Linked DNA regions of Homo sapiens: regions 1, 2, 3, 4, 6 and 7 are each linked to region 5. Evidence: promoter capture Hi-C in 16 types of primary human blood cells and fetal thymus (Javierre and others, 2016). All regions are on one chromosome and are shown on one strand. The core of a region is centred on a gene start or on the middle of the fragment in contact, and the rest is flanking DNA. Distances in the headings are between cores, read along the strand shown.

Evidence for each region. Contacts are between HindIII fragments. The CHiCAGO score rates a contact against its expected background, and 5 or more counts as called.
Region 1: a fragment that was not itself captured here is called in contact with the fragment with the promoter of MKKS in region 5 in 1 of 17 cell types (activated CD4 T cells); the score reaches 6.5 in activated CD4 T cells.
Region 2: a fragment that was not itself captured here is called in contact with the fragment with the promoter of MKKS in region 5 in 5 of 17 cell types (activated CD4 T cells, total CD4 T cells, total CD8 T cells and 2 more); the score reaches 12.0 in activated CD4 T cells.
Region 3: the fragment with the promoter of RRBP1 here is called in contact with the fragment with the promoter of MKKS in region 5 in 1 of 17 cell types (non-activated CD4 T cells); the score reaches 7.5 in non-activated CD4 T cells.
Region 4: a contact is called between a fragment that was not itself captured here and the fragment with the promoter of MKKS in region 5, in 1 of 17 cell types (non-activated CD4 T cells). The highest score is 7.0, in non-activated CD4 T cells.
Region 6: a fragment that was not itself captured here is called in contact with the fragment with the promoter of MKKS in region 5 in 3 of 17 cell types (total CD4 T cells, activated CD4 T cells and naive B cells); the score reaches 11.7 in total CD4 T cells.
Region 7: a contact is called between a fragment that was not itself captured here and the fragment with the promoter of MKKS in region 5, in 1 of 17 cell types (non-activated CD4 T cells). The highest score is 7.0, in non-activated CD4 T cells.

The regions. Positions count from the first base shown.
Region 1 is chr20:17,570,081-17,573,996 of GRCh38, reverse strand. It overlaps DSTN (destrin, actin depolymerizing factor), which reads right to left. Exons shown (of 4, transcript NM_006870.4): 1 at 3,786-3,916. The coding sequence starts at 3,788. Among named protein-coding and RNA genes, the nearest start is that of DSTN, 2.0 kb to the right of the region's middle. RefSeq lists silencers at 3,482-3,771, 3,792-3,916. The HindIII fragment of the contact is 938 bases long and covers 2,198-3,135 here.
Region 2 is chr20:17,964,027-17,967,741 of GRCh38, reverse strand. The region is part of intron 1 of SNX5 (sorting nexin 5); the gene reads left to right. Among named protein-coding and RNA genes, the nearest start is that of SNX5, 2.9 kb to the left of the region's middle. RefSeq lists enhancers at 1-235, 1,453-1,532. The HindIII fragment of the contact is 815 bases long and covers 1,930-2,744 here.
Region 3 is chr20:17,679,976-17,683,502 of GRCh38, reverse strand. It overlaps RRBP1 (ribosome binding protein 1), which reads left to right and starts at 1,261. Exons shown (of 25, transcript NM_001365613.2): 1 at 1,261-1,475; 2 at 3,428-3,504. RefSeq lists enhancers at 591-650, 1,904-2,576, 2,768-3,527 and silencers at 931-1,350, 1,581-1,910, 1,941-1,990, 2,021-2,330. The HindIII fragment of the contact is 11,518 bases long and covers 1-3,436 here.
Region 4 is chr20:18,132,710-18,136,204 of GRCh38, reverse strand. No RefSeq gene overlaps it. Among named protein-coding and RNA genes, the nearest start is that of KAT14, 3.4 kb to the left of the region's middle. The HindIII fragment of the contact is 751 bases long and covers 1,511-2,261 here.
Region 5 is chr20:10,432,962-10,436,898 of GRCh38, reverse strand. It overlaps MKKS (MKKS centrosomal shuttling protein), which reads left to right and starts at 2,677. Exons shown (of 6, transcript NM_170784.3): 1 at 2,677-2,791. SLX4IP (SLX4 interacting protein) reads right to left here and starts at 1,594. Exons shown (of 8, transcript NM_001009608.3): 1 at 1,446-1,594. It overlaps LOC128706665, which reads left to right and starts at 2,677. Exons shown (of 3, transcript NM_001394148.2): 1 at 2,677-2,791. It overlaps LOC128706666, which reads left to right and starts at 2,677. Exons shown (of 3, transcript NM_001394149.2): 1 at 2,677-2,791. RefSeq lists enhancers at 1,441-1,490, 1,651-1,880, 2,771-2,830. The HindIII fragment of the contact is 4,604 bases long and covers 1,579-3,937 here.
Region 6 is chr20:18,569,468-18,573,329 of GRCh38, reverse strand. It overlaps SMIM26 (small integral membrane protein 26), which reads right to left. Exons shown (of 2, transcript NM_001348957.2): 2 at 3,770-3,862. Among named protein-coding and RNA genes, the nearest start is that of SMIM26, 4.0 kb to the right of the region's middle. The HindIII fragment of the contact is 2,280 bases long and covers 1,095-3,374 here.
Region 7 is chr20:18,281,696-18,285,504 of GRCh38, reverse strand. No RefSeq gene overlaps it. Among named protein-coding and RNA genes, the nearest start is that of ZNF133, 4.9 kb to the left of the region's middle. The HindIII fragment of the contact is 4,298 bases long and covers 1-3,401 here.

The sequences.
Region 1 (3,916 bases), core at 1,417-3,916, 7.1 Mb before region 5:
AACTCCTGGCTTCAAGCAATCCTCCTGCCTCAACCTCCCAACGTGCTGGGATGACAGGTATAGGCCACTGTATCCAGCTGATTTTTTTTTTTTTTTTTTTACTGCTACATTTACTTTATGGCTCTGCAAATAAGCTTAGGTGAAGATGGTAAGTATTTACAGAATGGCCAGGTTTGCAGGATGCAGCATGCGTGTAAAAACCTAAGATGCAATAAACATATGAAAAGAGTCAGCTCACTAGTAATCAAAGAAATGCAAAATAAAATAATGAGAAACCATTTCACAACCATCAGACTGGCAAAGGTTTCAAGTCTCTTATTAAGTGGTGAAAGGCAATGTAGAAACAAGCTGTTAATGATGAGATACAACCAGAACGAACCAGTAGTAGAGTAGAAAATATGTATGCTCCAATCCAGGGCTTCCGCTTCTAGATATACACCATGGAGAGATACACACTGGGGCTAGAGAAGTAATATATAGCAATATATGACATGGAAATTGCCTATTATAAAAACTTTAAATAGACCAAAAAAAGGCAAAAAATTAGGAAATGGCTGAATGTCTATCAACAGGGGAATGGATAAACTTGCACAATCATACAAAAGAACACAATTCAGCAGTTGAAGAACCAAAGCTACAAATAAATCCAAAAGCTGCCCTCCCCTGGGAAAAAAAAAACCACCCCCACAAAGTTTAATTTTTTCTCACAGAGCTGCAAAAGGATACATGAAGCACAGTATTTACGTAAGTTTTAAAAGCACATCAAGGCAATACATATGAATGATTAAGTAGCTAAAAGTATGGAACTATCAATGAATATCAATTTCAGGTGACTACTGTGAACTTTACCTGAGCTCTGTGTTCTCAGAAAGCAGTGATGGTTAATCCACCCCACCGTTTTGTGTTCTGGGAAACAGGTAACTGCAAAGAACTGGCCTGTTGCATATTTTCAAATAAGGCAATCAGGAATGCTCTCCTAATTGCAATAGCCTGAATAAAATCATCTCCTTAACCAGCCAGGATATTATGTCTTTGACACAGGAATGGTTATAACTCTAGGGAGGGAAGGGAGTGGGATGAGGAAGATGATGCATATTTAGCTGTAATGATAACATAAAAACCTGAAATATGGCAATAAGATAGCCCTGTTTTTCCTGTACAAAAGGATCTGTTATTCTGTGTACTTTTCTGCTTAAAATGTTTCAAAATTATTATTTTAAAACTTGGAGTTGGAAAAGGTGATTTGTCTCAAGTCAATTAATCCTTTACAATCTGTTTTCTCATATGTTAAATAGGCATGTGAATACATGCCCAACCTATTTCACTGGGTTGTAGTGTTTTTGCTAATCACCAAGTATTAGAATACTTGAATACTGCGCCAATTAGTTCAGTCTGTGAGACCACAGTCCAGATTAGGATAAGGTTAAGGGTTAGATTATCGTGCAAACCTTTTAACTCTACTTCAGGGGCAAGACTACACTCTTACTTTCCAAGAAGCATAAAAGATACTCTGGTTACAAGAGGAGCTAGGCAAGTCTAGGTGTGATGTCTCAATCCATATCCAGTAGAACTACTGAGCAAATAACCTTAGTAACTTGATGATGGGCTACTAAACAATCTCTGTATAAGGAGGCTGGCACACCCAGTACACACACACACACGTTTTGTTTGGGGTCTGTAATTGTGGTTCACGTGGAGGCAGACGTTGTTTGTTTTTTGTTGGAGGAGACATCTGAAAACATCTAATCTCATCCTGAAGCGCCCAGCTGGTTTCAAACTGCTTTATTTCAGGTGCTTCTAAAAGACTTGGTGAGTACAAGGAAGTGATTCTGCTAATTTAGAACAAACCCATCGGTAGTTAAAATTTAATCTTAAAAGAAACTTGGAACCAAGCATCTAACCAAAAGAGCTAAAAGCAAAGTGCTAGACTCTGGGATAATACCCACAATATTCTCTAATCACTGAACTAAACAAAGATGCTCCTGCGCTCATAAGGCTAAAAACAAAAATAACCTTTAAAAATGGGGGGTCTATAATCTGAACTCTAAGAGTAACTTGTAAGGTCTTCTTGATCTCCCTAAAGCCAACAATTTTGAAGCGTATTTGGAAATCGCTCATTTCTAATTTTTATTTCTCCCACTCCTCACAAGAACCAGGAAATATAACAGACCCTTCCTTCCTTGAATTTAGTTAAGCTTTAACTAAAACTAAGCATTTAACTAAAGGTAAAATGTTTGGTCTCTTATTTTCAAACAGAAAAATAAAGTCTGTATTAGCCACTCAATAAAAAAGCATAATGTCAAATCAGAAGTCTCTAGAGCAGACCCTAGTCAGCTTCAAAGCACTTTCACAGAGTGAATGGTCTTAAGCGTACCATAACTCAAAGCCCCTAGATTAAGTCTTTCAGTATAAAGTAGCATATACATTTAAAATGTTATTAAATTTCTAATAATTAGATATTAAAAAGACTCAAGATGCTGATACTTTGTAGCTTACAGCATTAAACCAAAGAAGAACCAAAAACTGAACAGTATCAAATCCCTATTACATACATATCTACAGTCATCAAGAAACTACCGGTTTATCTTTTCTTTCACTAAGGGGCCGCCTGCATGTTCACGGAAGTTGTAGTAACTTAAGAAAACCAAAACTGTTATACAGTGAAAACAGTTTGTATGCAGATAAGCTGGTACCAACTGCTTCTAGACAGATGCAATTACAGTGTAATATTTCTAGCAAAGTCTGGTAAGGCTACGCCTGCAAATCACTGACCAAAAATGGTAACAGTGTGTGCACACTAACGAAAACGACAAAATGTTCCAACTGATAGTTCAGTTGAGAATACGTTTTTAAATAGCTAATTAGAGTGACAGTGTAAAGGGGGAAAATATGTAAATTAAGCAAAATGTCCATCATATAGAATATACTAATGAGCACCTGTTTACTTTCTGGTGACTCCAGTATTTTAATGGTTTTTAAAGCTCTTAAATTTGGTTGTATCAGCATCCCAGCATCATGCCCACACCTTGCGCACCAAGTTCTGGCAGAGTCCAACTGTCTACAGGTCAGAAAAAAAATTCTAACCATACACGGACAGATCGGGCAGGGAAGGGTTAAAACAGACACTGCCAAGCTTGACAAGCACGACGAGAGTGCTGCTGGAAGCCGATTGCCAGATAAAAAGAAAAAAACAAAGGAGCTGCAAGGCCACCCCGTTCTAAATCATGCCAGGATCCTGCTCGTTAGCGATCATTCCGTGCTCTAGGACTGTTCCATAAAGGCTTTATCTTCCTTATTGAGATGGACAGACCTCAAGGGCTGGAACGCGCACAAGTCACCAAGCGCCTCAGCGCCAGCTCTGGGGAAACCCACGCCAACAAGGACGGTGGCCGGATTCCGACGCCCCCCGCCCCCCACTCCCCGGCCTCGGTGTGCAGACCCCCGGATGGATTTCACAGAGCGGGTGGGGGCGCTCGACCCCAGCCAGTTGTTGCAAGGCCGGGTCTGGAGACACCCGCAGAGGCCACGCTCAGGGCGGCGGCCTCGCCCCAGCTGGGAGCTGCGCAACAGCCGCGGATCCACCCCGGGGCGCGGGGGCCCAGCCAGGACGGCGGGAGACGGAGGCCCAGAGACCCCCCCTCACCCGCAGCCCGGACACTGCAGCCGGACCGGGTCCCTCCCCGGGCTGAGGCACGGCTCACCCCCTTAGCCCCGACTCCGCGGCGCCCCAGAGACACACTGCTCCCGGCCGCCTCGGCCCACGCCTCGGCCTCCCTCCTACTCACCATCTTCGCCGCGGCGGTCGCAGGGACGCGGGGGAGGGAGCCGGCGGGCAGCGAGTATGCAGACCGTCCTCCTCACGGCTGCGGGACCGAGAGACCCAGCGCTGAGCTGACGCGGCGGCGCGAGCTTACCC
Region 2 (3,715 bases), core at 1,088-3,587, 7.5 Mb before region 5:
AAAAGATTATTTATGCAATAAATTGAAATTCCCATAGCCAATTAAAGATTCAGACGAGCCTCCACTCTTTTTCATTGGTTCTTTAAATTTGCCTCGGTAGCTTTGCGATGCATGGTTTGCGAGCAACCTTTCTTGCAGAATCGTCAACGTAAGTTTTTCTGACCGATGAAAAAGAACCTCTAAAAATACAAGGCTCTCTTAAAATGTAATTTGGAGCCGTCTTAACTTACACATTTCTTGAGAAGTTAAAGGCACCTCCATAGAGAAACTTGTTCATCTAGTAAGTAAATACCAGAGTTTCAAAGCGGCTGGATTGTTCCAACAAGGGTATCATTGCATTAATTATTAAAATAGAGCTTTCTATACAGGAGGGTGTTGTTTAGAGTGGTTTTTTTTTTGAAAGTTCTTTATTACTAAAACAAAGTGGAAACTTGAGACCACGATTCTTTGTAAAACATTATAAAGGTACTTTTCTCCATAAAGGGTAGATAATGGATTGGGATTTTGGTAGCATTTTATTTTTTCTTTCTTTCTGGTACATTCTTTTAGCTGTCTTGATTCGGAGTCAGCTAGGTAAAAGGACTCAATTGCTTCACCCCACTCTCTGGTAGTACAGTATATTGCAGCTGGTTTTTAAAATGACTTCCACCACCCTGATCCTCCAGCAAAATTGGAGAATGGTTATGAAGGCCATTTCCTGCCTGTTTTAGAGGCTACAGAAACTGTCCGTATCTGTAGCGAAGAGAGTTACATGACATTGTTTTCCTTTTTACATTACAGGAATAAAGAGACAATAAAAATAAATAATTACCCTGACGCGTGGCTTTATTTTTGTTTTCTGATCTCTGCTGATGCTGATAACCTGCTGTGGTCTGGCCTAGATGGTGTTATGGTTAACTGAAAGGGAGTTTGGGGCAAGTATGAAATAATGGGAAACTAAGTCTTGGGCAACTTTTTGCCATAATACAATTTCGGTAGTCAACTGAAATGTTTTGTGTGTTACCTGAAATGTGTGTTACTTAAATTGTTTAAATGCCCTCCTGATAATTTACTTTGGTTTGGAATTCTCCCTAAGGATGGAGTTAATTAAGACTCACTAAGGTAGGGGGACATACTTGATTCTTCAGGATTTTGAATTCTAGCCCAATACTCATTTTGGCCAATTCAGCAAAACTGAAAGGGAATACTGTGTCAGTCGTGTCTGGTAGCCAGACACTGGCATTTTGTTACATTCTTTAGCCGAGGGTGTTGGGGTTTGCCTTCTTCCTCAGAAAATAGTTCAGGGGAAGAGATGCATGGTTAATTTGGTTCCTAACTGGTCCTCTATTTACTGGTTTTTGATTTTTTTTTTTTTTTTGAGACGGAGTCTCGCTCTGTCGTCCAGGCTGGAGCGCAATGGCTCGATCTCAGCTCACTGCAACTTCCGCTTTCTGGGTTCAAGCGATTCTCCTGCCTCAGCCTCTCAAGTAGCTGGGATTACAGTCGCTCACCGCCATGCCCGGCTAATTTTTGTATTTTTGTGGAGACCGGGTTTCACCATGTTGGCCAGGCTGGTATTTGAACTCGACCTTCGCAGCCTAGTGCTATTTTTAACTAGGGGGTTCTCCTTCCTTGACAGTAACAACTTGGCCTTAACTTACTGCTTGGTTACAGGGACTTTGGTGAATGATATCTGTCCTCTTACCTACTCAGGAGTGTTTGTAGACTAAGTACTGCTGCTCTGGTTTCGTGTTTAACTGGTGTGGAAGCTGCCTCTAGGGGTATTTTTGTTCTCCATTAGCTAGAATGGAGTGCAGTTGGTTAGTATAGGAACAATCCTGAACTTTGACCAATACCATAGCAAGTCCAAACTTACAAACTTTGTGGACTGAAGCTTTATGCTACCCTTGCAACTATTTTCTAAGTTGAGGAAGTATGACGTATCAAGCTTCCCACGCCTTAGTTCTAGTTCAGTAACTTGTACTCGGTGTCTTAAGATCCCCATTTGTGAATACTCTAAAAGGTCATTATCTGTTCACATTATTTTGGCCATAGGTAGAAATGGCCAAGAGGCTTTTTTTTTTTTTTTTTTGAGACAGGGTCTGGCTCTGTCACCCAGGCGGGAGTGCAGTGTCACGATCACAACTCACTGCAGCCTCGACCTGGGGAGCTCAGGTGATCACCCCCACCTCAGCCTCCTGAGTAGCTGGGGCTACAGGCACACACCAGCATGCCCACCTAATTTTTGTATTTTTTGGTAGAGATGGGGTTTCACCATCCAGTTCAACATGCCGGGATTACAGGCATGAGCCATTGTGCTTGGCCAAGGCTGTTAAGTTTTCTAGATTTGTTTCTGAGCTGTAAACTCCTCATTCGGTGAGACCTAGTGGTCATCTAAACTAGAGGTTGAGTTTAAAATTCAGTTTCTCAACCTGGGGAGCACTGTTGACATTTTAGCCTGATCACTTTTGTTGAGGAGTGCCCTCTGGGTTGTAGGATGTGAAGCAACTGTTTTTGGCCTCTGCTAGGACGCGGCCTCCTCCCCTCCCATGGTGATAAGAAGTCAAAATTGCCTGTTTGAGAATCACTGGTTTAAACGGACTTCCTTCTAAAATGGTGTGATATGGGTGGGGTCAGGTTGTGTTACAGAAGCTAGTCTTTGTGTGCTTGTTGCGAATTTTTCAGGTTTTCTATTAATCTTGCCTAAGGAAATAACATGCCATGTAAAAATTAGCATTGTTGGATATCTTTGTGAGAATAAAGCTTTTCCACTAATACTGAGGAACCTTAACAAAAGGTGGTGAAAGATGGTTTTCTTCAGCAGGTTCTGGGTACTTGAGGGTTGCAAAGGGAGGGCTTCGTGTTTGTGTTTGTGAGTGTAGGCTTTGGACACTGGAAACTTACCTGAGTTTCTTGTGCTGCAGAGGGGAACTTGGTTTAAAATTCTGCTGTTTCAGCATTTTTCTGTCTTTATTATCAGGGTCTTGATGCTCGAGCAAATTAGGTGAGAACAGATCTATAGGTTAGTACCCTGAATGTCTTAAATAGCCCGTGGTCACAACAGTGTGTAGTGAAGTTAAATAGTATTTAAGGAAACAGTCTAACTTTTAATGATCCCAATAGTGAGAAACGGCTATTAAAGTGTAAATTAAGTTTCTCTGCATGATCTAACTTTCCAAAAAGTGGCTTCTTCACCCTTAATACCTGTTTTCTGATTGGCCATTGAGGTACTCTGACAAGATCTCCTAAAAGAGATCTTCACACCTTCACATGCTGCCTAAAGGCAAACCATAGTACCCCAGGAGGAGTAAGTTGCAGTTTGAGGGGCAGCCAACACTTAAGTTTAAAAATGGGGGTCCTTGGCTTGACTCTTCTTTTTACATTTTGGCATAACTTTTTTAGGCATTCCTATATGGTCTGGAGAGAAAACTAATTTTCTGCCTGAAAAGCTCAGTTTCTGAAGGGCACACTCCTAAGCATTCTAGTCATGGTAAATGGTGAGGAATACAAATCCAGATGGCTCCCTTGTCAGGGTTTTCACTTTTTCTTTCAAGAGCACCGCAGAGCTAGGACATTGTGCTGTTAGATACTTGGTAGCTGGTGGGTGATAAAATGTTGGACTTCTTCCCTCACCCTTCCTATATCTTTCATGAATTTTGTTTTGAATTCTTGTATTTATTTTGTTTAGAATTCTTTTTCTCAAGACAGTCTTGCTGTGTTGCCCAAGCTGGTATCG
Region 3 (3,527 bases), core at 12-2,511, 7.2 Mb before region 5:
ATTCCCCATGAAGGCTTGTATTTTTCACATCTTTCTAACAACAGCTAGTACAGTACTAGTGACAAATGGGGACAGGGAAGATTGAAAATTGTCCAAGAAATAGATGTTAGGCACGGGATTCTGCAGCAACAGGAGCTAGGGAAGTGATGGGGGGCAGTCTAGGCAGCCTTTGGTCGCTCAGAATCCAAAATTCCAAAGAAGCTGGCTTTGGCTCAAGTTCAAAGGGTTGGCTTTAAGAGACGCTGACATAATGGTTAAAAATCAAGCCTAAAATTATTTTAATTTAAAGACTTGACTAATTATGAAGACTGAGTGTTGGCTGATATTGGGGAGAAAGTCAGGGAATGAGGAAGTACCAGTTGCTCCGTTTTGTGGGACACGGATGAGTTTTCTTAGGTTAGAACCTCTCACCTTCCCCAACGCATGGAATAAAACGCCACAGAGTGGATTGTAATTATTGCTCTGCCGGCTGTGATTTGGTTGAGTATCTTAAATAGACCGTGCCTCAGTTGTACCCTCCCTAACAACGAGGGCGATGACATCCGCTTCAATTCCTCGTGCACCTTCTGGCTCTTCCACCCCAATTCCTCCATTTACTGAAGGAAATTCCTTCTGGTGCTGATTGCAATCTCTTTGATGATAAGAACTTGCTCTCCCTGGGCTGACCCCCAGCAGAGCTTGTCCTCATACCCGGCGGCCCGAGGGGGCGCTGCTTCGGGGGAAGTTAGTTGGGTTTAAATAAAGCAGCTTCCTTGGCTGTTCGCGGTTGCGCAACCCTGTTCAGCCACCGCCATGTCAGCCCAGCGGTATCCAGAGGCGCAGGCCCGGGGTCGCCGGGACCCGAACCTTCTGCTTCCCGCCTAGGCAGAGCCGGATCCTAGTCAGAGACTGCTGGGAGCGCCGCGGGCCCAGAGTGGGCGGAGCTGGCCGGAGACCCCCCCCTCGGTGGGCGGGGCGTTCCTGCTCCGCCCCGCCCCGCGCACGGCCGAGCGCCGCGCCGCTCGGCCCCGCCTCTCCCCAGCCCTGCCCCCTTCACCTCCCCGCAGCTCCTCCCCTCTCCCATTGGCCGAGGTGGAGACCCTCCTCTCTGCCCAATGGCCGCCGCCGCGGCTCGGCCACCCGCGTCCTGACTGGCCAGCGACCGGCAGAGTGGCGGGGTGCGGACCAATGGGAAGAGGCGGCTCGATGAATGGCTGGCCCGGGTGGGGAAGGCAGGAGGCGGCGATCCCGGCGGAGGGGGCCGTTCGCCAGCTCTGAGGCAGAAAGTGCCACGACTCCACACGCGCGCACGCAGCCAGCGAGCGGCCGGAGCGGACGGCAGACGGGGCGGGCGGCGTCAGGGTCGCAGCGTCTACAGCTGCTCGGGGGCGGTTTCTTGGCGGAGGCTTGGCCGGCTCCTCTCTCCCGGCTCCGCGGCGGCTGCGAAGGCGGCGGCTCCTGCCCTCTCGCTTTCCCTCTCGCGTCTCTGGCTGCAGGTAAGAAACTTGGCCGGGCCCTGCAGCGGCCGCGCGCGGGCCGGGCCGTCGGGGGGCCGGGGCCGGCCGCGCTGCGCCGCGAGTGACACGTCTCCTCGGCGGCCCCTCCCCCGGCCCGCCCGCCGCCCGCCGCCTGCCGCCGCGGCCGTGCACCATCGGGGTCGGGGTCGGACTCGGGGCGGGGGTGCCGGGCAAGCGCCGTACCGGGGCGTAGGCAGGGCGCGCCCCGTGGTGTGGACCCCGCGGCCCTCGCCGTCCGGGGAGCTGCGGCGGCAGACGGGCGCGACGTGGCGACCGCTCCCTGCCTCCCTCCCTCCCGGCAGGGCCGTCGGGCCGGCCAGCGCGCTCCGAAGTTGGGCGAAGAAAGTTGGCGGCGGGGCGGGGCGGGGCGGCGCACAGCTGGCGGAGGAAGGGGTTAAGTTTCGGGAAGCCGCCGGATGACGTTGCCGGGCTGGAGTCCGGGCCGGAGGGGTGGGGTGCGGGCGGAAGGCGGCGGAGGCCGGCCGAGGGGAGGAGGGCGGGATTGAATGGGGGCCCACGGGCCGAGCGCGCCGGTCCCGGGCCGCGGCCCGCTGGCGCTTCGCGGGGCTGGGACGGCCCCCGACGGGGCGGGCCGGGGCCGCAGGGCTCGCGGCGCAGGGACCGGGTCTGTCCATGGCACGGACGCCGGGCGGCCGCGGTGGCAACTTCCCGGAGTGCGGGAGGCGGCTCCCTGCTCCCCCTGGCGGCGGGGCCGGGGCCACCGTTTCCCCGGCTGGGCTGCGCGGAGCCTGGCTCGAGGGCTCCCGGCGGGGGGACGAGGGCGCCCGGGGCCCGGCCCGCCCCGCCCGCGGCCACGATGAATGGGCCGGCGGTGCCAGCCCCGGGCGGAAGCGGACACCTCCGGGCCGGCCAAGCGCGCTGGCACCCGGCCTGGTGCCCGCCCCGGCCCGGCCGGCTCTCCCGCTGCGCCCTGATTAGGGGAGGCAGGCCGGGGTCTGCGCTTCCAGTGGGGCGCCCGCAGTGCTTCAGGGACCCCTCTCCGAATGATAAGTCGCGAGTTTTAGCTCTAGAGTGCCCCGGCTGGCGAGGGTGACCCCGACCAAGTTGTTTCGTTCGGGGTCTCCATTTCCTGGTCTGCAAATCGGGGCTCCTGTTAGCTTCGATTTGCGAGGAAAGCTGTGGAGACCCAGCACTTGTAGGAAGGAGCCACAAGTGTTGGCTGTTCAGTTGGGATGCTTTTGTTGGGGGGTGCTGGACACGGGAGGAAGGTGGGGCCTGGCTCCGGCACTGCGGCGGGCGCGGGGCTGCAGAAGTTGCACAGCCGGGGTTCTACACCCCGGACCACGTACTGGCCGCCTACTCGCAGGTCCCATAGCCCCTCTGAATCCTAGTTTCTTATCTGTGGCCTGAAGACAGCACCACCCACTCACAGGGTCGGGAACCACGCCGGGAAGTGCTGGGACCTTGTACAAACAGAAGGCAATTTGGCAATTACTCTGAGAGGTCAGAGGTTAGGAGAGACTGGGAAGCACCAAGGAAATGAAACTCTGAGGGACCTGAGGAGCCTCCCACGTCACTGCTCAGCTATTCACTCTGCGTGCTGGAACCTTCAGGGTAGGGGCCATCTGGATGGCATTTTCAGGAATTTGGAGAAATGGGCCTGGTAGGGCCTCATATCTCACATTAGATACCTCTTCAGAACTGGGTGTCCCCAGAGACCCAGGACGTCTGTCTGGCACTCCCAGGAAGAACAACTGCGAATGTTACCCCGCCCTGTGCAGCTGGGGGGCATTCTCCCACTGCCCCGCCTCCCTCCTCACACTCCTTGTTTGATTTAACTTCCTGTTAATCCGACACCTAGAGAAATCTGTGACCCTGCAGCATGTCACTTACTGTGTGATGTCTTGACTCGTTTACGAACTTGCCAAAGGTCACTCCCACTATCATATGCCAACCTCTTTCCCTTCCAGAAAGAAGCTTCCGGTTCTGAGGTCCTGGAGGTGCCATTTCCCTCTCTGTTGAAGCAAAGGCCGGGGCAGACCTCCTAGTAGGTGAAGTTTTCCTTTTACA
Region 4 (3,495 bases), core at 637-3,136, 7.7 Mb before region 5:
GAAGCAACTATTTTTTTCTTTTTCTTTTCTTTTCTTCTTTTTAATTGAGACAGGGTCTCACTCCGTCGCCCAGGCTGGAGTGCTGTGGGGTGATCTCACTGCAACCTTTGCCTCCCAGATTCAAGCGATTCTTGTATCTCAGCCTCTGGAGTAGTTGGGGTTACAGGCCTGAGCCACCAGGCTGCACTAATTTTTGTATTTTTAGTAGAGATGGGGTTTCACCATGTTGGCTAGGCTGATCTAGAACTCTAGTACTGGGTGCTGGTACTGGGTGTTTGTGAAAATTGGTCCAGTGGCACACCAAGGCTGTGTGGTCACACATACATGCATGATACACTTCTATACAAAATCTTACATAACTATACGAACAGAAAAAAAATGGCTCTTTTTTGTTTCTTTTATTGTCTTTATTTCCTTTTGATTTTTTATTGTGTGTTTTTTTCTTTTTTTTCCCATTGGTTCATAGCCGATGGCTTTACATTTTATCATCACTTCTTGTATCAAATAGCTTTTTGGCTGGGAACGGTGGTTCATGCCTGTATTCCAGGCACTTTGGGAGGCCAAGGCAGGTGGATCACTTGAGGTCAGGAGTTCGAGAACAGCCTGGCCAATATGGTGAAACCCCGTCTCTACTGAAAATACAAAAATTCGCCAAATGTGGCAGCGCATGCCTGTAATCCCAGCTACTTGGGAGGCTGAGGCAGGAGAATTGCTTGAACCCGAGAGGCAGAGGTTGCAGTGAGCCACTGCACTCCAGCCTCGGTGACAGAGTGAGACTTCAACTCAAAAAAAAAAAAAAAAAAGTTTTTTCTCCATGGTAACTATCAAAAATTAAAGAGATGATCATTTAAAAAGATTTTGATCAGCCAGGCGTGGTGGCTCACACCTTTAATCCTAGCACTTTGGGAGGCCAAGGAGGGTGGATCACTTGAGGTCAGGGATTCGAGACCAGCCTGGCCAACATGATGAAACCCCGTCTCTACTAAAAATACAAAAATTAGCCAGGTGTGGTGGTGGGTGCCTGTAATCCCAGCTACTTGGGAGACTGAGGCAAGAGAATCACTTGAGCCCGGGAGGTGGAGGTTGCAGTGAGCCGAGATCAAACCACTGCACTCCAGCCTGGGTGACAGAGTGAGACTCCATCTCAAAAAAAAAAAAAAAAAAAAAAAATCTTGATCAAGAACTATGTGCAGGAGCAATGATCAGGAACTATTTTTAACACAAAACTTGATATTTAAAAGAGACTCCAAGAAGAATGTTATCAGGAAATTTTACCCAAAGTTGATATTTAAATCTACCCCAAGATTTGCTTTTATTTTTCTTCTCATAATTATATGTCATTTATTTTTTTGTTTTTCTTTTTCTTTTTTATAAGAGTACCATATAAAGGAAATGTAAATAATTATTATCCATGAAGCTCCTTTTAGAATTATCCAAGCTCACGCAAGTTGATCCCAGTGAGTTGTACAGATATCCTTATTTTTTATGTTTACCAAGGTGGGACGAAGCTTAGGAAGCATGGCTGATTTAATACAATTTGCTTGTAAGGCCAGAACATCTGAACCTTGTGTATCTGGCTATATTCTAGTGTCTCGGCATCCTAAGATCACATCAGTTCCTGCCCCTCTCAGCTTTGGATTGACTTAGGTGTGCCCAGAATGGCCACTGCTTTCCTGGAGAGGACAGTGGGTGCCTTGCCCTGCCATTGGCTGGCCTTCAGAGTGAACTTACCTCCAAAGACAAAAATAGGAAGCTGACCACCTTAAAAACCGCTCAGTGGCTCCCCATGCCTACAGGATAAAGTCCCATACTCTTTAGAACAGCATACTACCCTGTCCTTCCCTTCAGAATCCTCTAAGCAAGAGGCAGCATCAAAAAAGAAGTACAGTTGGAAGTCAGGGCTTGGAGAAGAATCAACAAATGAAAACTAAGGGGAGGGAATGCAGTCATTTTCCTGTGTTTGAACAACATGGTCACACAATCTTTGTTCCACCTTCACTCACACAAGGGTGGGGACTTGAAAAAAATGCCTTCCTCACTGAGTGTGTAATTTGGCTTATGTTATTTGGGCTTGAATCATGGCCAGGTCCTGGCAGCTATCCTGGGAGAGCTGGGTTTCGGGTCACTTCTGTCTTAAAGAATAGTAAATCACTAGTACCCTAGCAGGAGGTATCAGTAGGAGGCACGGGTTTAAACTGGGCTTGATGGTGGGCATGAATGCAATAGGTCAAGGCAGAGGCTTCAGGCAATGATCAGAAGCTTGTCATCATTGGGGCTGAGAGAGAAGGAGGAGGTGGGAAGGAGGAGGTTTGTTTGGGAAGAAGGTGGAGGGTGTCAGCTGAACTGGCACCAGTGACTGATAAATTTATCAGTCTCAGCACTAAATGATTACAGAAACATCACACCACATGGCACCGCATAAAGCACCATTATGACTATTTTAAATGCAAGCAAGAAGGCTTGCCTTGTGTATGGCCCTGTAGTGGGCTCTATAGGCAGACAAGGCCACGAAATCCCACCTTCTTCAGGCTGAGGCTCTGAAGTCAGCACATAAGGAAAAAGTCAAAAACAGTTAAAACTACCCTTGAAAACATTTTAGGAAGGTGACATGTTGAAGAAAATAGATATTTTCTCAGGAACTCCAAAACAGCCAGTTTTTCTTCTGGTACTGGAATTAATCACCATGAATTCAATGCAGTATCTATATAAGTAATCTGAAATTCTGCACAGGTTTGTCTCTTCTCTCCCATTTAGTAACTGATTCAATCATTTGTTTCTATCAGTGTGGACTGGTGGGTATTTATTTTATACTTTGGGTTATAATCCAATATTACTTTATTTTGTTGCTCAGATGGCTCCCGCTTTGGCCGTTGGGAGATCTTTCAGCTCCTCTGCTTCTCTGACGGACCCTCATCAATGTGTGTTTTTCTTGTTTAGCACTTGTCTATTTTCTGACACTGCACAATATTCTGAGCTAATCTTGTATATTTCCTGCCCAAGTCTCAGAATCTGCCATTTCTCCAAGAATCCAAGGTTCTTTTTATTGTAGAATAATATTGGAATCCAAGATATAGGTCCTGGCATGCTTATTGCTACTGGGGCTTTGTTTCTTTTGGGCCCTCTCAGCTGACAAAGCACATAAATATATGTGTGTATACTTATCTGTGTATGTTACATATCTGCAAATATTTCTATATGTAATCACCTGAATCTATATTGACTAAAATGTGAGATATTGCTGATGTCTGCAACTCTAGTCCATTACCAGATGGATTATTCTAACCTCCTTTTTTTATTGGTAAATTCCTACTCCATCAGTGAGAATTCAGGCTCCCATTTTCCACCATCCACTTGCGCAATTGTTTGATTCCAGTGTACATGTATAGCAGTTTCAGAATTGTTTACCTCATAATTATATGTCATTTTTTTTTTGTGGGAAACAACTTTACCTACTAGAGTACCATGCTTTTTTGCAGTTCCTATTGCTTTTGGCTT
Region 5 (3,937 bases), core at 1,428-3,927:
CTAAGACTTACAGAGAAAACCCTACATTTCAGATGTTATAACAGAAATTACATATAAGTATATTGGGATGACAAAATCTCTTTTCAACTTTTTGGAAAGCTAAATTGACGCCCTAACATCAAGTCAATGAACTAAAAGCACAGAAAAAAACCTGTCAAATATCCATTGCATTTAGAACATGCAATAAATTGATAATACACTGTGAATCTAGTTAAGAAGCACGGGTTGAACAAAGAATGGGCCAGGCCGGGCGTGATGTCTCAGGCCTGTGATCCCAGGACTTTGGAGGCCAAGGCGGGTGGATCACCTGAGGTCAGGAGTTCGAGAACAACCCGGCCAACATGGCGAACCCTGTCTCTACTAAAAATACAAAAATTAGCCGGGGGTGGTGGCGCGCGCCTGTAATCCCAGCTACTGGGAACGCTGAGGCAGGAGAATTGCTTGAACCCGGGGGGCGGAGATGGCAGTGAGCCAAGATCGCGCCACTGCACTCCAACCTGGGCAACAGAGCGAGACTCCATCTAAAAAAAAAAAGAAAGAAAGAAAGGGCTGTATCTTTAGCCCATGCCCTGAATCAATGTTCCTTGAACTTTAAGGTACACTTCTTGAGGAAGATTCTGATTCAGCAGCTCTGGGGTGAGAGTCATGAAGTGTAATTCTAACAAGCTCCCAGGGATGCTGATGCTGGTGGTAGGTGAAATGAACTTGGAGCAACAAGGCCCTAAGTAACTGGAATATTAGTTTTAACGCTAGCCAACTGGCTTACAAATATCGTTATGTCTAGGATCCAAGAAGTAAGTGTCAATACCATTAATTCCTACACCCGGCCAAAAAAATTAAAAACTAAAAATAAAAAAAAATAGTTCAGGGGAAGGAGAAAGCAAATACTTGTTTATACAGTCTAGCAGTGCTAAGAACCATAAAATACTGTTATTTGTCTCAACCTAGTAGATGTCAAGGTGATAAAATGTAGGCTCCATGAGTTAATGGATTTTTTTTAGCTAACTCCTGAATCCTTATGGCCTAGCACAAATTAGGTACTCAAGAAATGCAATGAATAAATGAATGAATGGGAAGTATATACAAACGCAATCTGTATTTACCTCACATCTCCAAAAATGTCTGGGAAGGGGGAGGTATTTGTACTGCTGGATGCAGGTAGCCATGATTTGATACAAATACCTGGCCCATCTACTGCATTCCCTTTGTGCAAAGACAGTTAACTTTCCTGAATAATATCTCCACCGTAATGCCCATGCTCATGGCATCCTGATGTTTAGCAACTTTTTGGCTTTTTGAAAACAATGAAGAAAGGTGGAAGTACAGGGAGAAGGATTCGGAAAAGTCTCAAAAAATCAAAGCCAAAAACCAGGAGGGAGGAGATGGGCAAACAGTTCAGTTCACTTGAAGGAACATCTGAGGTTGTCAGAGGTCCATGTGCTTACCTATGATGGTGGCGGGGTTTGGGCTCGGGCTTTATATGTTTTGTTACTGTCCAGGGTCACTGGCGGAGTAGTACCTGGCTGTGGAAACTCGGACTACACAGGTAGCCGGAACTGCAGCCAACCTTCAGAAGCTTAAGGGAAGCACTTTCGCGCTTACTTCCTCCTTCCCAGGGTCTCCGCGCGCGTTTGGGAACTCAGCCGCCGCCCAAACACAAAATGATCTGGGCAGCTTCGCTGCAGGATTGAGGCCACAGCCAGGATTTAAGATGGCAGCGAAACACTTCGATGGCCCGTGGAATCTGCCCAAAAGAAAAATGGCCTCTGTTCAGAATATCGCGGCTTTCAAAGTGGGCCCAAAACAAAAATGGCGCCGGACGCAGGCTATTTTTAAAGGCTGGGACCCCAATGACTCTCATTAGCAAATAACGTATCATGGTAACTCACGGTGCTAGGCAGTTGAACTGACCGAGAGAAAAAAAAACGCTTTTCTGTGGTGTGTTTTCTTAACATTGGAAAATGACTAGCTCAAGAATGGAACATATATTCGGTGCGAAAGATTGTGAGAAAGGAAAGGTAGCTTTCACAGTGCCGGATAAATTTTAATAAAAATAGCCATGTTTGAACATAACTTCCTATATGTTTTTTAATGTTAAAAGAGAATAAAAGTTTTGTCCTGGAACCCAGAAGCAGGATGGGGAAATGCCGGGTGAATTATCTAATCTGTGAAGAGTACGAGCTGCGAAACTCCGCACTTCCCTGTAAGCCCTCAGGAAGGACTGAGGGCGGATGCTTTAGTAGAAGGCAACTAGCTCTCACGGCGCATGTCCGTTTTCCAAACCCGATCCCGGGAGTTACGGGAGAGTAAAAATCCTGATTTTCCAGACAACCGCACAGAGAGGCGGGATACTGGCGCTGAGCGACAAATCCAAGCGCTTTGTAATTGGTCATGTCAGGACAGAGAGCAGAGCGCAGTGGACTATTTCTTTCTTTCATTCAATAAATCATTGTCAAGCGCTCACCAAAAGGCAGAAGCTGTGCCATTTTGATATGTTATTTAAATTTTATGCGTTCTTTTAAAATTTCAGTTTCAACAATTTGCTGGAATATACGCTGAATAAACTTCGCTCCCCGTTTTTTCCGGTGACGGCCGCTGTTGGCTGGAGCTTCACGGAAAACCCGGAGAAGCGGAGTGGGGGCGGCCCGGCGTCGACCGCAGAGCTGCGCGTGCTCCGTGCCCTCGCGCGACGCGAAGGTTGTCGGGATCCGCGGCAGCAGCGGCTGCTTGAGATCTGTTTCTGGGGCCTCTGGCGGTGGCGGCCTGGGGCGGCGCGACGGCTGGTGCGCAGGTGAGAGCGCTGGGACTCTAGGTGGAAAAGCCCGCTTTGTGTCCGGCCGAAGAGAGGGGAAGGGGCTTGTAGGCGCCTCCCTCTCCACCCCCAAAGGTCACCGGTGTCCTCACTGAAGGATATTTGAGGGCGGGGACAAGGAGGAGGCTGGCTCTCTGTAGGAGGCGAAAGACCGACCTCTGAAATAGCTGCCGATGGTAAATGTTGCGGTCGGCACGGATGCGGGCGGCGAGGAGGTCTTCCCGCCGGTGGGGAGAGCTGGAGGAGTGGCGCCTCACCACGCTCCCACCTGCGCTGCCGCCTTCTACGCCGAACCTGTGACTCCCCGTCCCCTCCCTCGCTGGGAGGGGCCCCGTGTGCCCCTGACTGTCTGGAGGGTGCACGGTGTACCCCAGGCTGTCGGGAGGTGGGGGCCGCCCTCCGACGGCGTTAGAGACGTTGTGCAGCGTGGCCCTGCCAGCTACGTGAAAGCAGCCGCGGGGCTTGCAGGGCTGTGGACCTTGTAGGGATGACCCTCTAAGGTCATGCTCGTCTTCCTCCCCGATAAGACCATACCCAAATCCTGTTGCCGTTTCAGAGACTCAATATGACGGTTTCATTCATTCATTAACATCTTCAGTTTATCCATAAACAGATATACACGTGTCTACAGCACTGCCGAGTTAGTAGATACGGCAGTGACCAAGAGGGACTTGCACGGTCCTGACTCCATGTTCTAGTGATGGGGGAGAAACAATACGCTCCCTATCCATGAGTTCCGCATGTGTGAATTCAACCAACTGCGGATAGAAAATATTTTGGGGCGGCGGGGTTTGGTGGCTCACCCCTGTAACCCCGCACTTTAGGAGCCCGAGGCGGGCGGATCACTTGAGTCAGGAGTTTGGGGCCAGCCAGGCCAACGTGGCGAAACCCGGTCTCTGCTAAAAGTACAAAAAAATGAGCCGGGCGCAGTGGCGCACGCCTGTAATCCCAGCTACTTGGGAGGTTGAGGCAGGAGAATCGCTTGAGCCCTGGAGGCGGAGGTTGCGGTGAGCGGAGATCACGCCACTGCACTCCAGGTTGGGCGACAGAGACTCTATTTAAGAAAATAAATAAATAAAAACATTCTGGGGGAAAAAAGATGGTTACATCTGTACTGAACACGTG
Region 6 (3,862 bases), core at 985-3,484, 8.1 Mb before region 5:
CCCACTGAGTGATCAGCCTAGTCAATTTTTTTAAGCCACACTAGGTGCATCATTGTAAAAATTTCAGAACACTAGAGATGAAGGAGGTCCTAAGACCTTCTGGAGAGAAGAAAACAGGTAATAATCAAAGATTAGGACTTCTCAGCTGAAATATTGGAATTGCTAGAATACAGGGGACTGATGCTTTCAAAATTCTGAGGGAAAGTAATGATCAAACCTGGGGTTCTGTACCCAGGCCAACTAGTAATTGAGTATGAGAATACGAAAAAGACATGTTCTGGTCGGGTACACTGGCTCATGCCCATAATCCCAGCACTTTGGGAGGTGGAGGCAGGCGGATCACTTGAGGCCAGGAGTTTGAGACCAGCCTGGCCAATATGGCGAAACCCCATCTCTACTAAAAATGCAAAATTAGCTGGGTGTGATGGCGCAGGCCTGTAGTCCCAGCTACTCGGGAGGCTCAGGCATGAGAATTGCTTGAACTTGGGAAGCGGAGGTTGCAGTGAGCCGAGATCGCACCACTGCACTCCAGCCTCGGTGACAGAGCGAAACTGTCTCAAAAAAAAAAAGACATGTTCAGACATGAAAAATCACCAAAAAATTATATACCCTTTTTCAGAATTATGGGGACACAGTATCGAGAAAACAGAGATCCATTATAGGATGGCAAAGCAAATAGCAAAGAAAAATGGATGCAAAGCAGAACTAGAGTGATCAGTCCAGATTGTACCAAGAAGACAAAGAGCTCCAAGATTTAAAAACAGAAAAGAGAAACTGGAAAGGTTTGTGTGGAAAATTATATTGTGAGGTTAGAGGATGTGGAAAGAATGAGAGAGAAACATCAAGAAAACAAAGCAAATGAAAAAAAGAGTGCAGTTAACTCCAGAAAGAAAAGTTATATGAGAAACAATTATAGCTCACTTACTTGGCTTATCAACAAACTATGTTTGCATAGTTAAAACAGGGTAAATATTAATTATTGATTCATCAAAAATATGCAATAGTTTTATTGGTTAGTCAGTTGGAAAGGAGGATCAAATCCTCATTAATAAATCCCATACATGATTGATAAATTAAAGATATTAGTAAAAGCTTATTATTTAGAAATGTGGACGTAAATACCAAAAAAAAAAAAAAAAAAACCTAATAGTTGAAAGCAAGGAGGGATAAAGCAGGAACTGTTTTTTTGGTTACAAACTTTTGATCATTATTTAATTTTTTAATGCATTTGTTGCTTTGTTAAAAATATAAAAATTAATTTCAAAAAAGTCATGCTGGCTAATACTGTAGAAACCAATTGGAGGGGACTCCAAGTAGAGACAAAGAGAGTAGGAAGTTGAGGCTACATAAGCAAAGAGGATGGAGGATTTAAGTAAGGTAGTGGTAAAGGGAATGGGAAGGTGGGAATGGAGTGGAATATTTGCAGTAGAAATGATGGGACCTGGTGGCTGGAGGAAGGAGAAGGAACAAGAAGAGGGAGAAGTCTAGAATGATAGGTTCCTAATTTGAGGAACTGAGTACTCTCTGAGAAAGAGAACGGAAGGAAGAGCAGCCTTGTGGGTGATGACAGCAATTTAAGTTATGGACAAAGCTGAGGTGGCTAGATATCCAAGTGGCAATGCTAGATGGACATGGATCTTGAGTTCAGGAGAACGCTGGGCTGAAATAAGAGAATAAATTAGATCTAGCAAAGAAACCCAGCCAAGTCCCAAGGAAAGCTAACCCAAATGTCCCCTTAAGCCCCACAAGTGTATGAATCCTGGGTAGACTGCCAGGTGAGAGTAGAAGTTCAGCTGTTTATCCTCGGTGTGCTCTATTAACAACTCTCACCTGCCAAGTGCCACAGCCCCTCAGCCCTTGCCCTTTGTTTCTCTGGAAGCCCTCATGTTAGGAAATGTCTTCCAAAACGTTCATGCTACTGTTCCCATTTCTCCCATACTTCTGATTCACTTGCTTCTCACCTTCCCCATCTACTGTCGTACACTGCTTCTCATTCATCAGTTTGATGCCAACCAAGATGGTCCACTGGAATACACAGCCAATTGGCACGAATCCATGCTTGACCTGATATCCCTTGGGAAGCTGAGTCTCTGCTACCAGCATCTGGAGCTGTTACTTGTGATTTTGGAATCCTTGTCACTAAGGCTGACTGCACCACAGCACTGCTCAGGCCACCCATAATGGTGGAACTGACACCAATGAGAAATCAAGATGAGGGTCTGAAGGTCATAGTACTGTAGAGGAACCCTGAAATGCCCAATTCCTGTCCTACCACACATCACATCTCTACTCACAGGGTCCCAACAGCTATGAACAGGAAAACACTACCTAAATGAGAAACAAATGCCACTTTATTCATAACTGAGGCAGTACTCTATAATCCATAGGCAGGGATCTGATAAAAACTGAACTGAGTCTCTCGCAAGGGTGGAAGCCAAAGACCAGGTTGAGGAGAGGCTGGTCAGACTTTGGCACTGCACATGGGAGGTAGTATCTTCTTGGGATATTTGTATTACTCCAGAAAGGTGAGAAAAGCAGCTGGTGTGCAATAAGAAAAGCAAGGCCAAGAGCCCAGGCAGGCTCAACAAGTGGCTGCCTGCATTCTGGTCCCAGTGTCAGGCCTTCTGAAGACAACATACTGCTTTTTTTTTTTTTTTTTGAGATGGAATCTCGCTGTCAACAGGCTGGAGTGCAGTGGTGCGATCTCAGCTCACTGCAACCTCCGCCTCCCAGATTCAAGCGATTCTCCTGCCTCAGCCTCCCAAGTAGCTGGGACTACAGGTGCGCGGTGCCATGCCCAGCTAATTTTTGTATTTTTAATAGAGACAGGGTTTCACCATGCTGGCCAAGACGGTCTCGATCTCTTGACCTTGTGATCCGCCCCTCGGCCTCCCAAAGTGCAGGGAGTACAGGCGTGAGCCACCGCTCCTGGCCCATACTCTCTGCTTTAATTCTGAGCTACCAATACACGTTTTTTATAAACACCCACTTTTGATTTAAGCTCACTTGTGTTTGTTGCCTGCAACCAAGAGACCACTGAGGAAACTGGTTCAGCATCAATCATGTCGTCCTGACTGCATTCCCAGCATTAGAATAGCACTGGCCACAGTTGGTGGGTAATCCACACTTGCTGAAGGAATGAGGGGTATGTGCACTGGTCCTAAAGAATAGGTCCAGTCTGTTTAATTCAGAAGTTACAATCAAATTTATATCATACTTACCCAGTACGCAGTAGTACCCAAAGGGCTACTGTGAATCCCAAAGTGAATATGGAGATTTGCTGAAACTAACCTTAAAGCGACCACTAAAGCTGTGCCTAATAGCAACATGAAAGAAATATAAATCTACATTAACTAGTTTCAGGAAATCAAGCTTATGGAAGCTCTATGTGAAATTTCACAGCAATCTTTCACTCATGCAAATACAGAGGAACACCTCTTGAAAATGCAGATAGTAGGCCGGGGACCGTGGCTCACACCTGTAATCCCAGCACTTTGGGAGGCTGAGGCAGGCGGATCACAAGGTCAGGAGATGGAGACCATCCTGGCTAACACGGTGAAACCCTGTCTCCACTGAAAACACAAAAAATTAGCCAGACATGGTGGCAGGCGCCTTTAGTCCCAGCTACTCGGGAGGCTGAGGCAGGAGAATGGCATGAACCTGGGAGGCGGAGCTTGCAGTGAGCCGAGATCGAGCCACTGCACTCCAGCCTGGGTGACACAGCAAGACTCCGTCTCAAAAAAAAAAAAAAAAAAGAAAACGCAGATAGTTTCCTTCAAGAAAATATTTATTGCATATTATTAGTGATTATGTTTTACAGCAAATTTAAATACATACACTTTTCACAAACCCAAAATGGGAA
Region 7 (3,809 bases), core at 3-2,502, 7.9 Mb before region 5:
GTTTATTGAGATTCTCTAACCTGTCAGCTATTGTTTTTCATTAAATTTAGGAACTTTAGCCATCATTATCTTTAAATAATTCTCAGTTTCTTCTCATTTTGGATAATTCTTTCTCAATTTCTTCTCCTTTTGAGTCTCCACTTACACGTATGTTAGACCATTTGATATTGTTCCCGAAGCTCTATCCAATTTTCCTCAGTATGTTTTTCTGTTTGCCAGATTGGTTTCTATTGACCTGTCTTCAGGTTCACTGAAACTTCCTTTTGCCATCTTCAATCTTTTAAGCCCATCTAGCAAATTTTAAATTTTTATTTGTTACATTTTTAGTTCTAGAATTCCCACTTGTTTCTTTTTAAAATAATTTCCACTGAGATTTCCACCCCCATTTGTTTCTTTGTGATGTGTGTATTTTTCTTTAATATGTTTATGCTAGTTTCTGTAAAGTCTGTGTGCTGAAACCTCTGGACCATCTCAGGATCTATTTCTGTGACTGCCTTTTTTTCTTAACAGTGGGTCACACTTCCTGTTTTTTTGCATGTCTAGTAATTTTAAAGTTTTTTTATGCAGGACATTTTTTGTGGCATGATTCTAAATTCTCTTACGTTAGTCTGAAAGTGCTTTTTTTACCTGTAGGCAGTTTAATTACTGGATGAATGTTTTGAACTTGTGCAGGCTTCATTTTATTCTTTGTTAGGATAGATCTTTGAAAGGTCAAAGTGTTTACCAGGCTCCTCTAACTTGCAGGACTCAAACTCCAAGTTCTTTAACCCATGCAGATATTTTTACGTCCTTAATTTAGTTCCAGTTAGAGCATATCTTGAGAAGACCTTACTATAAGATGTGGTCCTTATTTTATGGCATGGCCTCTCTGGTTTCTCAGCTGAATGATTGAGGTGTTAATGAGGTTTGTTTATTCTGATTGGGCTGGAATGCCTACACTCGCCAGCCCTGCTAAACTTCTAGTATTTCCATTCTTCTCTCAAGCAGCTGTTTTCTGGTAATCATTGCATATTTACCCTGCACAAGCAAAGCTCAACTTCAGCTGAGGTGGGCTTTCCCCTCTTTGCACAGCTGCCTCCTTTCTGAGACCTACCCTACCAGTGTCATCTGCTTCACCATCCCTAAAGTCTTTTTTGCCTCCTCATCTCAGTGAGACTAGTGTGTCTTTCCCCCACCATCCCATATCATGGTCAGGAAATTGTCCCCAAGCAGTTAGCCAGGGCAAACGTAGAACTCATTTTCTGAATTTCCCATCTCTCAGGGATCACAATTTTGTGCAACCTATAGTCCAGGGCCTGAAAATAGTTGCTTTATACTTTCCCCAGTGTTATGGTTATTTATAATGGGAATGATCATCTGATACCAGTTATTCCATCATGGTCAGCAGAACACGTTAATTTGATAACTACTGTAAGTCACAAAATTTATATTTATTTCTCTGGCTATCCTAGATCTAGGACAAATCCTCACATAGGCAGCTAATTTGTTATAATCAATAAGACCATAGTTACATAAGGAACTTTAACTGGTTGTTGGGTTTGTAGCCCTTTCTCTGAAATGCTGGCGAGGTTCCTTTTATTAGAATATTGACAAAAAAATCAGCTGCAAGTTTAATAAGGTTCATCCATTTAAAAAGTCAATTTATGTTTCTGCTTAACTCACAGAAATATACCTCAAAGGTTAATGATATTCAGTAACCAGTTTTGAAGTAAAATAAAATTAGTTTAAAGGGTTAAAAAATTTTAAGATATGTGATTGGTAATACTATTCTTGGAAATACAACATGAGTATTTCAACTACAAGGTCTTTTACCTTTTCTGTAAAGACATTGTTCTGATGATTATGGGACATAACTAATTATACTCTTTATATTCAATTAGTCGGTGTCCTTGTGCTGGTTGAATTAAGTACACTTTTAAATTGTAACTGCAGGCATATTTTGTTACATCAGCCCCCTGCCATCTGAGAAATACACTTAAAGAATGTACCAAATTTACTCTGGTTATATCCTTCCTGGCTTGAGGTATTCATGCCAAGGTATGATTACCACACAATGTCAGTGTTGGAAAGAAGAAGGAGTCTGCCCCTGAGAAATGGTTTTATGTCAATATTTGATTTAGTGTATCTACACTCCCTAGTGAGATCTCAGATGACTTAATTCTTTCTCATCAATGTGCCTGTTGAAGTGCAGACTTCTCAGGAGTAGTTGGAGATACTGATTTTTATTGTTTTGTGTGCGAGTTTCTCTCTTGGTTCTGAGTGCCTGAATTTAGTAAGATACACTTGAAGCCTGTCCCTTACAATGGCAATTACTGCATGTGTAATCTGCGTCTACTATACAAACTCAGCAGAAGAGCTTTACATCATTTGCTGCAAAGATGTTATACAAAGGCATTGCCTTGGGATATTTATGGACCAAACAAGGTGGCATTTGTGTGCTGGCTGTCACTTCTGATTGTATTTGAATACCTGCTTCTGAATAATAAAGTTCAGAAAACAGGCCGATTTGTTGTCCCAGAAAGGATACATTCAGCTGTTGGATTTTCTTTATTGCTTGGTTTGGCCAAGTAGGAAGTTGGTTTAAGGAGTCGCTGCAAATTTTAGTTATACTATTTTTGTCTTTGTTCCTAATTGTTGCTGCTGTCAAGTATGTTGTTAACAGGGTATTAATACTTTGGCAGAGCTACCAACTCATCAGTTCTAACCACAGATGATTCTGTATCAAAAAGAAATTGAAGTGACTCTGATAGAAACAAATCATGTGAGAATGATACAAAAAACAACATGGAGATGTAGAACTGGAAACCTGATAACTTGGCTAATATTTGTGTGGTCATCCAATCATTTTAGGCAAAGAAAAGAGCAAAAGAAGAGACAGTAAAAGGAAAAGATTCCATTTACAGCAGCACCTGCTTAGAAAATAATAAAGCAATGCCATCTCCCCTCAGCTATATCTGTTAAGAACTCTAAACTTTGAGTGACCCTAGTAGGGCAAAACTACTTGGCTGTAACTCAATAATTTTTCCTGACCTCTGAAAAATAGAACCTTTTAAACCAATTATGTAACAGTACTATGGATTCATTCTGACCTATCCAGAGTGCTAGTTTTTAATCCATAATGAACACAGCCACAATGAAACTCTACCTCCTAACATTTAAAAACACTGAAATTTCCCCCTCAGTGAACAACTTGTGAAACTTTTTCAGTGGTGTGTGTAGTAACTCAACCTTTTCACTTCTTTTCTTAAGCCTTGGTAGTTTTTGTTTTACATTAGAAACAAAACAAGAATACTATGTATGAAAACCAAAATTCTGATCATAGCAAATCCATTGTATTTAATGACTTTATCATTGAAATAAAAAATTTAAGAGGTAAGGAAACAAAGTCTTCAACCCAAGCTTGAAAAAATATAGCAAAAAGAAACACAAAGGCATAAATGAATACATTGGAAAGCAGTGAAACTGTGATAATACTTGTGAAGCGATTTGGGGCTCAGTACCTGTTGGCCAGGATTCATTATTGCTGCTTCCTTATTCTCCTCCAATGTATGTTCCATTTCACCTTGTTCCTGGCAGCTTCTCACAAGCTCTATTGCAGTTTTTTTTTTTGTTTTTTTGTTTTGTTTTGTTTTGTTTGAGACAGAGTTTTGCTCTTATTGACCAGGCTGGAGTGCAATGGCACAATCTCGGCTCACTGCAACCTCTGCCACCCAGGTTCAAGCAATTCTCCTGCCTCAGCCTCCCGAGTAGCTGGGATTACAGGCACCTACCACCATGCCTGGCTAATTTTTTTGTGTGTTTTTAGTAGA